Linked DNA regions of Homo sapiens: regions 1 and 2 are each linked to region 3. Evidence: promoter capture Hi-C in human tissues and cell types (Jung and others, 2019). All regions are on one chromosome and are shown on one strand. The core of a region is centred on a gene start or on the middle of the fragment in contact, and the rest is flanking DNA. Distances in the headings are between cores, read along the strand shown. Region 1 overlaps RBFOX3 (RNA binding fox-1 homolog 3). Region 2 overlaps RBFOX3 (RNA binding fox-1 homolog 3). Region 3 holds the start of C1QTNF1-AS1 (C1QTNF1 antisense RNA 1).

Region 1 (2,983 bases), core at 484-2,983, 68 kb after region 3:
GTGAGGGAGCTCAGGGAAACGGATCAGGCACATTGGGGTGCTTTCCAGAGGACCAGATGGTACGGTGGGCTGACCAGCCATTCAACCTGCTTCCCCGCAACTGAGAGGGCGTGAGGGGCCAGCCCTCCCCTCACCCTAACTCACATCCAGGCCGTGGTCCTTCCAAAGTCTCCGGGACCAAGGCATTGGTCAGAGGGCTCGGCCTCTCCCCCAAGGGCCTCACCACCCATGCCCAGCTGTTAGGACTGGCACCCAGGGCTGGGCGGGCCTGGGCTCCTTACCATGGTTCCAATGCTGTAGGTCGCCGCGGGCCCGATGGTGTGATGGTACGGGTCGGCAGCTGCGTAGACTCTGCCGTAACTAGGGAAGAGCGTGGGAGGGGGAGTGGGAGGAGGGTGGGGGAGGGGGGCAGGTGAGGGGCAGCAACGGCCTCCCACCTCCTCCCAGACACTACATGGGCACCCTGTACCGAGGTCCCATCTGCAAGGCACCCTCCCCTCCTGCAAGGCCTGCAAGGCCTACCCCTCCTTCTTGTTAAGAAGGAAGCTTCTGGAACACAACAGGCAACCCTCTCAATATGCCCACAGTGTGCTGACCCTGACGGGGTGGGGGGAGGGGGTGTGTTCCACTCAGTGCTACGTGGAGGGGGATGGTGTCCTCATGGAGCTCGTCTGCAGGGAAAACAAACTTCCACCCCAAAAAGAATGTGGTAAATACTGGGGAGGGTTTCAAGAGAAGAGAGAGGGTCAACGAGGAGGGACCAGGAACACTGCCCCCAAGAATGTGACACTTGTGTCCCTCACGACTTTCCCTTCAGCAGTTTGTCTGTGCAGGGAACTCTCAGCTCCTTAGAGAGCAGAGCTGGGCCACGGCACCCTGTACACCACACTTCAGGGAGATGGAGCCGGGGCTGCCAGGAGGGAGGGGGTACAAGCGGTCCCCAGACCAGAGTGGTGGAGCTCAGCTACCAACAGGCCAGATGTCTGAGGGGAAAGGCACTAGGCTAGGTTGCTCCAGGAGGAAGCACTCAAGCGTCTGCCTCCAAGACAGACAGCCACTGTGGGCACGGGGCTTGCGGGGGGCGGTGGGGGGACTGGGAATCAGAGATGCGGTCTCCACCTGGGGTTTCCACAGCCTCCCCATGGGGTAAGCAGGAAGTGACTGAAGTCAGGGGCTCACTGGCTCAAGGGCCACACTCAGACCTGCTCCCCTGTCCCGACCCTACTCCCGCCAGGCCTGGAAGAGTGGGTTACGCCTCCTGCCTGTCTGGGCCCAGCTCCCCAGGGATCCTTGTCCATCTTCTCCCCACCCTGCTCCAGAACAGTGCTGGCCCCCGGCCTCACCTGTCGCTGTAGGCTGCCGCCGCTGCAGCGGGCTGAGCGTATCTGTAGGCTGCGTAGCCTCCCTGCAGGGTAAGTGGGAGGAGAGAGAGCAGAGGGACTTAGTGGGGCTCCCCAGGGAAAGGCTGAGTGGGGAGAGGAGACAGACCCTGTGCGGGTGGGGCCCTGGGAGGGACTACAGACCTTCCCAGCCTCCCAGCCTCGGCTGGGTAAGGATTAGGTGGTACCTGGCCTGGGCACCTAGTTCTGGTCTAACACAGGACCGAGGACTGCAGATGGCTAGGTGGCACAGTTCAGGGCGAGGCAGGTCTGCCTGTCCACTCCATTCATTCACTCATTCATTCACACATCCATCTGTGCACTCCACACACATTAGCGGGTACCCATGACTCATCTGGCTGGGTGCTAGGCCTTGGCAAGGAAGAGGTGCTCACAGACCTGCCACCAGGCCACTGAGGCCTGACTTGGATGCTGAGGGGCTGGGAGAACCCACAGTGACTCTGGATAGTGTCCTGGACACCAGGAAGGGTCAAGGGTAAAGGGCACAAGAGGACGTGAGCTCAGATGATGTCCTGGCCTCAAATGGGCAGGTAACTGAATTGTAGGCAGCTGCCCAGGACTGAAGGGTGGCTGGGTACATGGGGTGTGGCCGTCAGTGAGTCTGAGACAGAGGAAGCAGCACATGTGGCCCCATGAAGGGGGAGAAAGGCCACCGGACCCCATCAAGGGGGGTAGGCCCTGGAGCACAGGCACCCAGGGGCCCTGCCTCCTGGCCCCTCTTGCAGCCCGTGCTGTGGGTGCCTTAGGGGCTCACTCACTGACCGCAGCGTGGTTAGGGACGTGGCAGAGTCCCACTGCCCCCATTATATGAGGCCTTGCCCACAGGAAGATGGTTTCAGCTCACAGGGCTGCTGGGCGGCCCATTAACTGCTCCCTTGATGGGTACCAACAACCAAACTGTGCCATGCTGGGATTCTCAGGGATGCCATACTCTGGGCAGACGTGGCACCCTCGCCCTCCTGGCTTCAAGGGTGGGATGGGATGGGATGGGAGGAGCGGGCAGTGAGAGAGGAGACGCCGACTTCTCATTGAGACCCACAGAACGCCTGATCCCACCCTCCCTCCCGGCGGGGCTACACTTACATAAATCTCAGCACCATAAAATCCATCCTGATACACGACCCTGGAAGCAAACGGACAAGAAAGTGGTGGGAACGCTGGAGAGGTGGGGTAGGCCGGCTCCGGTGTCTGCTGAGGAGGGAGGGGGCACGGTGCCAGCCCCGCCCATGGGACTGGCATTTTAACAAGCGTTTGCTCCAGTGCCCTGTTTTGGTATAACAATAGAGTAACACCCTTGCTGATCAGCAACTTTCTCCCACAAACCCCGGGGCCCATAGCCCACCCGACCCCAGGCAGCTGTGCCCCCCACCCCTTTAGTGATGGAGGGCACCAGACCCCAGGGAATGGGAGCAGAGAGGGCTCAGAGAAGCCCCTCGCTGACCTCAAGAGTGGACAACGGCCCCATTAAAGCATCCAGACAAGGTTCTGGGGCTCTGAATGTCCCCCTAAATGCCAGTGACCTCCGCGATGCCCGCCGTGGTGGGGATAGGGGTGAAGATAATGGAGGCAGCTGCAGGGCTGAG
Region 2 (2,978 bases), core at 63-2,562, 120 kb after region 3:
CAGCTGTGTTCTGTGCCTGGAGTCTCCATTCTGGTTGGAGGACTGGGGTCCCGTTTCCCACCCACAGTCCCTTCTCCAGCCTCCCAAGGTCCCTTCCCAAGCCTCTCGGCTGCCTCCTGCAGGCCTCACTCAGAAACTCTTTCCTGGCTTGGGGCGGGTCCAAGTCTAGATGTTTCTAGAAGCTCAAACATGCCCTGTGCCCCACTGCTGGGGCCTGGGTGACAGAAGTTGGGGGGTGGAAGGGGCAGGGCTCATGCCACAGCCTGAAGCCAAACCCAGGTTTGAGCCACAGGAGGAGGGAGAAGCACCCCACACCCCCCCAGACCATGGTTCCAATCCTGCCTCTGTCCCCGGCCACTGAGTGCCTCCCGAAGGCCACTGAACTTCTCTGGGTATCCGCTTCCTAGTCTTCAACTGAGGCTAACAGTAGTTGGGGCCACCTTACAGGTTGTTGAGAATAAACTAAGACCAAGATCTAATCTCAGTGCCCGACATGAGGCAGTTGCTTCCTGGAAGTGATGAGAGTTGGGCGACTCTATCCCAGAAGCACAGGCCACAGAGTCTGAGGACGCAGGGGAGGGAGGCCGACCCCGCCGGGGCTCCCTGCAGCCTCCGAGGGCCTCTGCGGGCCTGGCTGGGGTAGGCTAAGGCCAAAGTCCCCAGAGGATGGGAAAGGCTGAGACCACCCTCGCTGGCACTGATCAGGTCCTGAGTTTGTAAGGTCATGGGGGATGGAGGGGGACAGCCTGGGGCTTTCTCCAGGAACTTCAAGGGGCTGGAATAATTCATTCAAGAAACGCTAACCATAAAACCCTCATGCTGTTCTGGGCTTGGACTGGGTGGGATTCAAACACTCAGCCTGCAGCTCCCACCACTGACGAACAGCGCACTCTAAAGCTTAAGAAGCACAAGGAGATCCTCCAGGGCATGGAGGCTCCCGCAGCACCCAGGCTGGGACCCCCGCTGCCTGCCAGGAAAATGCGACGTCTGTGCTATTATTGCCGGGGTTACACCAGGGATGGTGTTTCCAAATTAGCAAAGGCCTGGGAAGGTGGCAGGGCATCCATCTGGGGCTTAGTAGAGCGTGGGAGGCAGCATCTCGGGACCCCTCCCTGGCCCGGTGCAGCCACGGGGAGCCCAGATGCAGGCAGTGGGGGGAGTGGGGGCACGGGGGAGGACAAAGGGGGGCTTGGCTCAGGCCCAGCCCCGGCCCCTCCTGGTGGCTCTCCCCACTCGTTGGATTGGAACACGGGCATTGCTGTCCTGGGGGAGGAGCAGGGCTGGACACGAGAGTGGACCTGGCCTCAGTGAGAAGGACTTTGGTGGGCTGTGGGGAGGAGCTTCAGGCTGTGAAGTGGGTGGGGCAGTGGGAAGTGTGCCTGGGGGGGTCCGTGGACGATTCCTCCTTCGGGACTGCTTGACCACTGCCTTCCCCGCCAGCTGGACCGTCCCCACACACTGCAGAAGGTTGGGGGTGGCCTAGGGGCTCATGCCCGCCCGCTCAGGCCTTCTCTCACTTTGTCGGACCCAAGACCCTGGGATGTCGAGTGGGGTCAGTAAACGGACCTGCAGGTCCTGGGAGGACAGGGCAGGGCGGCTGCTGGGCATCGCCATGAGCTGAGCTTCCACTGAGCATCTCTGAGTGCCAGGGTGAGGGGACAGAGATGGCTGCCAGCCTCCTCCTCTGGGGCCTGGAGACAGGAGGGGGACAGGTGTTATAATAAGCAGTGACAGTGGCTGCGCTGAGGACTCAGGCTAAGTGCCAGGGTGGGGATGGGGATGGGGGCTGAGGGTGGGGATGGGGATGGGGGTGGGGGTGGGGGATGGGGATGGGGGTTGAGGGTGGGGGGTGGGGGTGGGGGATGGGGATGGGGGTTGAGGGTGGGGGTTTGGGGTGGATCTAGTTGGAGGCAGACAAGGAGGGACTCTCAGGTATCCACAGGGGAGGGGCAACCAGGAGCTGCCCTTGAGGTCAGGACAAGAGGGTGGTGGGCAGCGGTGGGCGGCAGCTGTGGGCCACGACCTAGAGCAGCAGCCACGTCCCAGGAGACTGAGGCCCTCAAGGCACAAAGCCTCGTGGGGGGTCCTGGCTGGGGCCCAGGCCACTCTGCTTGGGTAGGACGCTCTGGGTCAAGGGGCAGAGTGGCTGCTGTGGGCCTGGGACACGCAGACAGTAGAGGCCTGGCCGTTCTCTGGGCTCTGCAGGCGGCCAACCCCCTAACTCAGCTCCATCCGCAACCCCCATACCCTGTTCCCCAGCCCAGGAGGTTCCTTCAGTGCCTCAACCTCACCCTGGTCCCGCCTGCCCATCACTCAAGATAGGAGGCAGCTGAACTGCCGGACACTCTACAGGTGGCCGCGCTGGCTCAACTTCTTTGAGAACCAGGGGAGACAATGGGAGGTGCAGGGCCACCAGAGCTGTCACTGAAGTAGGGGATACCTGACCACCTCTGGGGGCAAGGCCAGGCCTGCCAGGGGCAGGGGCAACAGATTCACCTCCCATCTCCTCCTTTCCCCAGCAACCCCACACCTGCCCCACATTCTTAGCCAGAGAAGAGGCAGGTAGGGATGGGCACTTCCGAGAAAAGAGGGGGGCAGGGAACTGCAGAGGCCACAGGGTGCCTCTGACTGGCCATGGGGCCTCAGGGGGGTCACCTCAGCTCGAGCCTCAGTGTCCCCGTGTGCGCAATGGGAGGACGAGGGCTTGCTCATGCCTAGCGCCGCCTGCGAGGGAGCCTCAGTTGGGCAACGAGCCTGGCTTGCTGCCTGCCACAGAGGGCTGGGCAGTGCTGGTGGCCGCCCCGCTGCTGTGCGGCTCTCACCAGGGCAAGGCCACCTCCCCAGTCCACGCTCCGCAAGTGCTCAGCACACACACATCCCTCCACCATGCTGGGCCCTGGACTCTCAGAACCACAATAAATGCAGCTCTTGGCGCAGATTCTGGGTTTGATCCTCGCGCTGCTCCCCCTACTCGGGGC
Region 3 (2,941 bases), core at 15-2,514:
TGATCCACCCGCTTCAACCTTCCAAAGTGCTGGGATTACAGGGGTGAGCCACCGCGCCTGGCCTCCGGGGCGTATACTTTTAACCTTCCTATCTGGTGTTGGGAACATGGCACTCAGCTCGCCAAGCTGATGCTGGGAACTTCTCTCTCCCAGCTGCTAACAGAGAATGCCCAGGGGCAGGAAGGACACAGGTCCGCTACCCAGGGACTCTCTACTTCTCCTCCCGCCTCCCTCTCCTCCTCTTGTGTTGCCAAGGGTGGTGTCCCCAGTGAGCTCATTCAGGGAGGCAGGAAGCATGGTGCAGGAAGCCCTAGGTGGGCGCTGTGCGGCTACAGGACACCACTGCCCCTCCCAGGCAGGTGCAGCCAGCTGGCGAGGGACGTCCTCCCAAGTAGGAGCAGAGAAAGCCCAAGCTGTCCCAGGAAGGCCATGGGTTCCCTCCTTGTTCCTAGGAAGTGACCCCCCTTTTCAGGGCAACCAGGACAACAGAGTGTTTTTGGAACATGCTCCTTTCTGTTCTTCTTCCTGGTGCCTCCCCCCAGCTGTAATTAGCATGACTCATAAACCAAATATTCTGGCATTGAACTTTGCTCATCAAAACAAAGATGAAAAGAATTTCATAGATACAGTTGTGCGCAGGGACTGGAGCTTCCCATTTGTGTCTTGTCCTCAGGGGTCCCTGTTCCTGGGCGGGGGGGGGCTGTGGCTGAGGCTCCAGAACCTTAGGGAAGGGGTGGGGGTGACGGACACCAGGAAGGGCAGGAAGAAGTAGCAGGTTACACCATCCCCTGGACGATCCCACCTCTGCCTGACAATCAGTAGCCTCTAGAGATGTTCAAGTGGGGGCACTCCCTCATGGGCCACAGGTTGCCATTTCCCCTGTTAACCTGCTGAAATTGGCCTGCTGGTGTCAAATGGCACAAGGCAGCTCTCTGGACAGGACCCTGCCATCTCCCTGACCCCTTCATACAGGGCAAGAACTCACCTGCCCACTTTAGAGAGCAGTCTGGAAGAAACAGCGACGTCAGCTCAGCTCAACAATGTGTTTCCTTCAGGCTCTCTTGGGGCAGCCCAGCAAGCCGCTCTCATGAGCCAGGGATCCTTGGGGCCCTGTCCTGGGGTCTATGCTGGGGTCCTTGGCCTGGAAGGGCCAGTCCTGAGCTTAAGCAGGGACATGCAGGAGCAGGACATGCTCACTCCTTTCCTCCTTCCCGAGCCCCGCAGTGAGATGCTCCAACTGCTGCCGCTGCAGCCTCTAGTTCTCTGGGAGAGGCATGCGGTGTGAGCAGGAAGGGAGGGGCTTCGGAGCCATGTGGGAAGGATCTTTATCTCTGGGTCCTTGTCAAGGTCACGGCTGTGTGACACTTGTGCTGGGGTGATATGAGTGGCTCTTGGCAAATCAGCACCCCTCCAGCTGCCTGTTCTTGCCTACATTTGATTTCCAGAGCTGGGCTTGGCATCTGAATGTGGTTCAAAGGGGGATGGTCTCCAGCAGGGGCACGGGGACCCCCACAGTCCCCACTGTACACCAGGGCACTGCTATCTTGCCTCTGAGGCCCCCTGGATCTAAGCCGTTCTCCAGCTTCAGATGGGGCTGGCACAGACTGCAGGCCCCTCCCCGGGCCCCCATCCTGTCCAGGACGGCCGTCGGGACGGCTGTGGCCGGGCCGGTGTCTGCCCATCTCCCTGGCTCCTGTAGGAATTTTCCTTGACACGAGACAGAGTAGAGCAGGAGACGGCAGGCAGGGAGGCAGGAGTCGAGGGGAGGAGGAGAAGAGGCAGACAGGCAGGCGGGGCATGGGGAAGTCAAGTTCTTGGTGCCCTGTGCTGGGTCAAATGTTGTTCTTGGCCACGGCTAAAGCCACACTTGGTGGAATGCCCCAAACCCTATGCTTTGGGTTGTACCCATCCCCCTCAGCAAGACATCTGGATAACAGCCACCCTCTGCCCTGGGGAGCAGGGAAGCTGCTGGGAAAGCTGCCAGCCCTGGGTGGGTTCGAGGCAGATGTAGGTCAGAAGGCGGGCAGGGCCCCCTGACTCTGCCCACAGGTTCCTGGGGCCAGTCTTCAGAGCTGGGGACAGAGGTGTGTTCAGAAAACGCTTAGACCCATTCTCCTTGTAAAGAATCTAAAGTGAGAGATGGAAGGATCTGGGTGGGTTAGGGGGTGACCACAGGTCTCTTGCGTCCTCTGGCATTCAGGGGAGCCCCCTCCTCCATGAAAGGATATCAATGAGGGCAAGGCCCATGGTCCTGAGGGTCCTCCCCGTGTGGTGCGTGAACTTAGATTCCTTTGCAACTCAGAGCTCAGGTCTGCTTGTGCCCATTAGAGGGCACTGGTCGGGAGAGAAAAATCATCTGTACCCCAGCACATGGGTCTTTTCCTCCCTTCTTCAGAGCTTGCCAGCATGCTGGTGTCTCTTCACCCTACAAAAGCAGTGCCCTAAAAATGCACATCCGATGGGCCACACTGCCCAAGCCCCTCACATTTTAAGGTGTGTGTGTGTGTGTGTGTGTGTGTGTGCATGCACGCGCGGGTGTTCCTGGTGATCCTGTGCCTAAATCCAAAGGAATTAAACTCCGGTGGTGTATTTTAAGATGCTAGCAGGCTGGCACCAGGGATATCTTAGCACATTGCATCAAGGAAGATGGTTACAGGTTTCCCTGGTACCCCATACCATACCTGGCATGTAGTGGGCACTCGGTAATCCTCTGTTGAATGATGAATGCAAGGGCTCAGCTGCTGGATACAGTCCTCGAAGCCAAAGGCTGCTGCAGCGGTTCCACCTATAAACAAGTAAGCAAATTGGTGGGCACCGTAACCCTGAGCCCAGTGGGCGGGAACGGTCGCTGCACCATGGCTTGGGAGGAGGAGGAGCCTATGCTCTCTGGCATCTTTCTGGCCACCCCTCGGGGTGAAGTGTAATGTGCTTTGCTGTCGGA

Evidence for each region. Contacts are between HindIII fragments. The study calls those that stand out against the background at their distance.
Region 1: a fragment that was not itself captured here is called in contact with the fragment with the promoter of C1QTNF1-AS1 in region 3 in 3 of the 25 tissues and cell types used here (liver, lymphoblastoid cells and thymus).
Region 2: a fragment that was not itself captured here is called in contact with the fragment with the promoter of C1QTNF1-AS1 in region 3 in 3 of the 25 tissues and cell types used here (dorsolateral prefrontal cortex, lymphoblastoid cells and mesendoderm cells).

The regions. Positions count from the first base shown.
Region 1 is chr17:79,094,170-79,097,152 of GRCh38, forward strand. RBFOX3 (RNA binding fox-1 homolog 3) reads right to left here. Exons shown (of 15, transcript NM_001350451.2): 12 at 2,484-2,664; 13 at 1,344-1,405; 14 at 282-360. Among named protein-coding and RNA genes, the nearest start is that of ENGASE, 21 kb to the left of the region's middle. The HindIII fragment of the contact is 6,672 bases long and covers 1-2,983 here.
Region 2 is chr17:79,148,185-79,151,162 of GRCh38, forward strand. All of the region lies in intron 4 of RBFOX3 (RNA binding fox-1 homolog 3), which reads right to left. Among named protein-coding and RNA genes, the nearest start is that of ENGASE, 75 kb to the left of the region's middle. The HindIII fragment of the contact is 7,480 bases long and covers 1-2,978 here.
Region 3 is chr17:79,026,391-79,029,331 of GRCh38, forward strand. It overlaps C1QTNF1-AS1 (C1QTNF1 antisense RNA 1), which reads right to left and starts at 1,265. Exons shown (of 3, transcript NR_040019.1): 1 at 986-1,265. All of the region lies in intron 1 of C1QTNF1 (C1q and TNF related 1), which reads left to right. The HindIII fragment of the contact is 4,721 bases long and covers 1,243-2,941 here.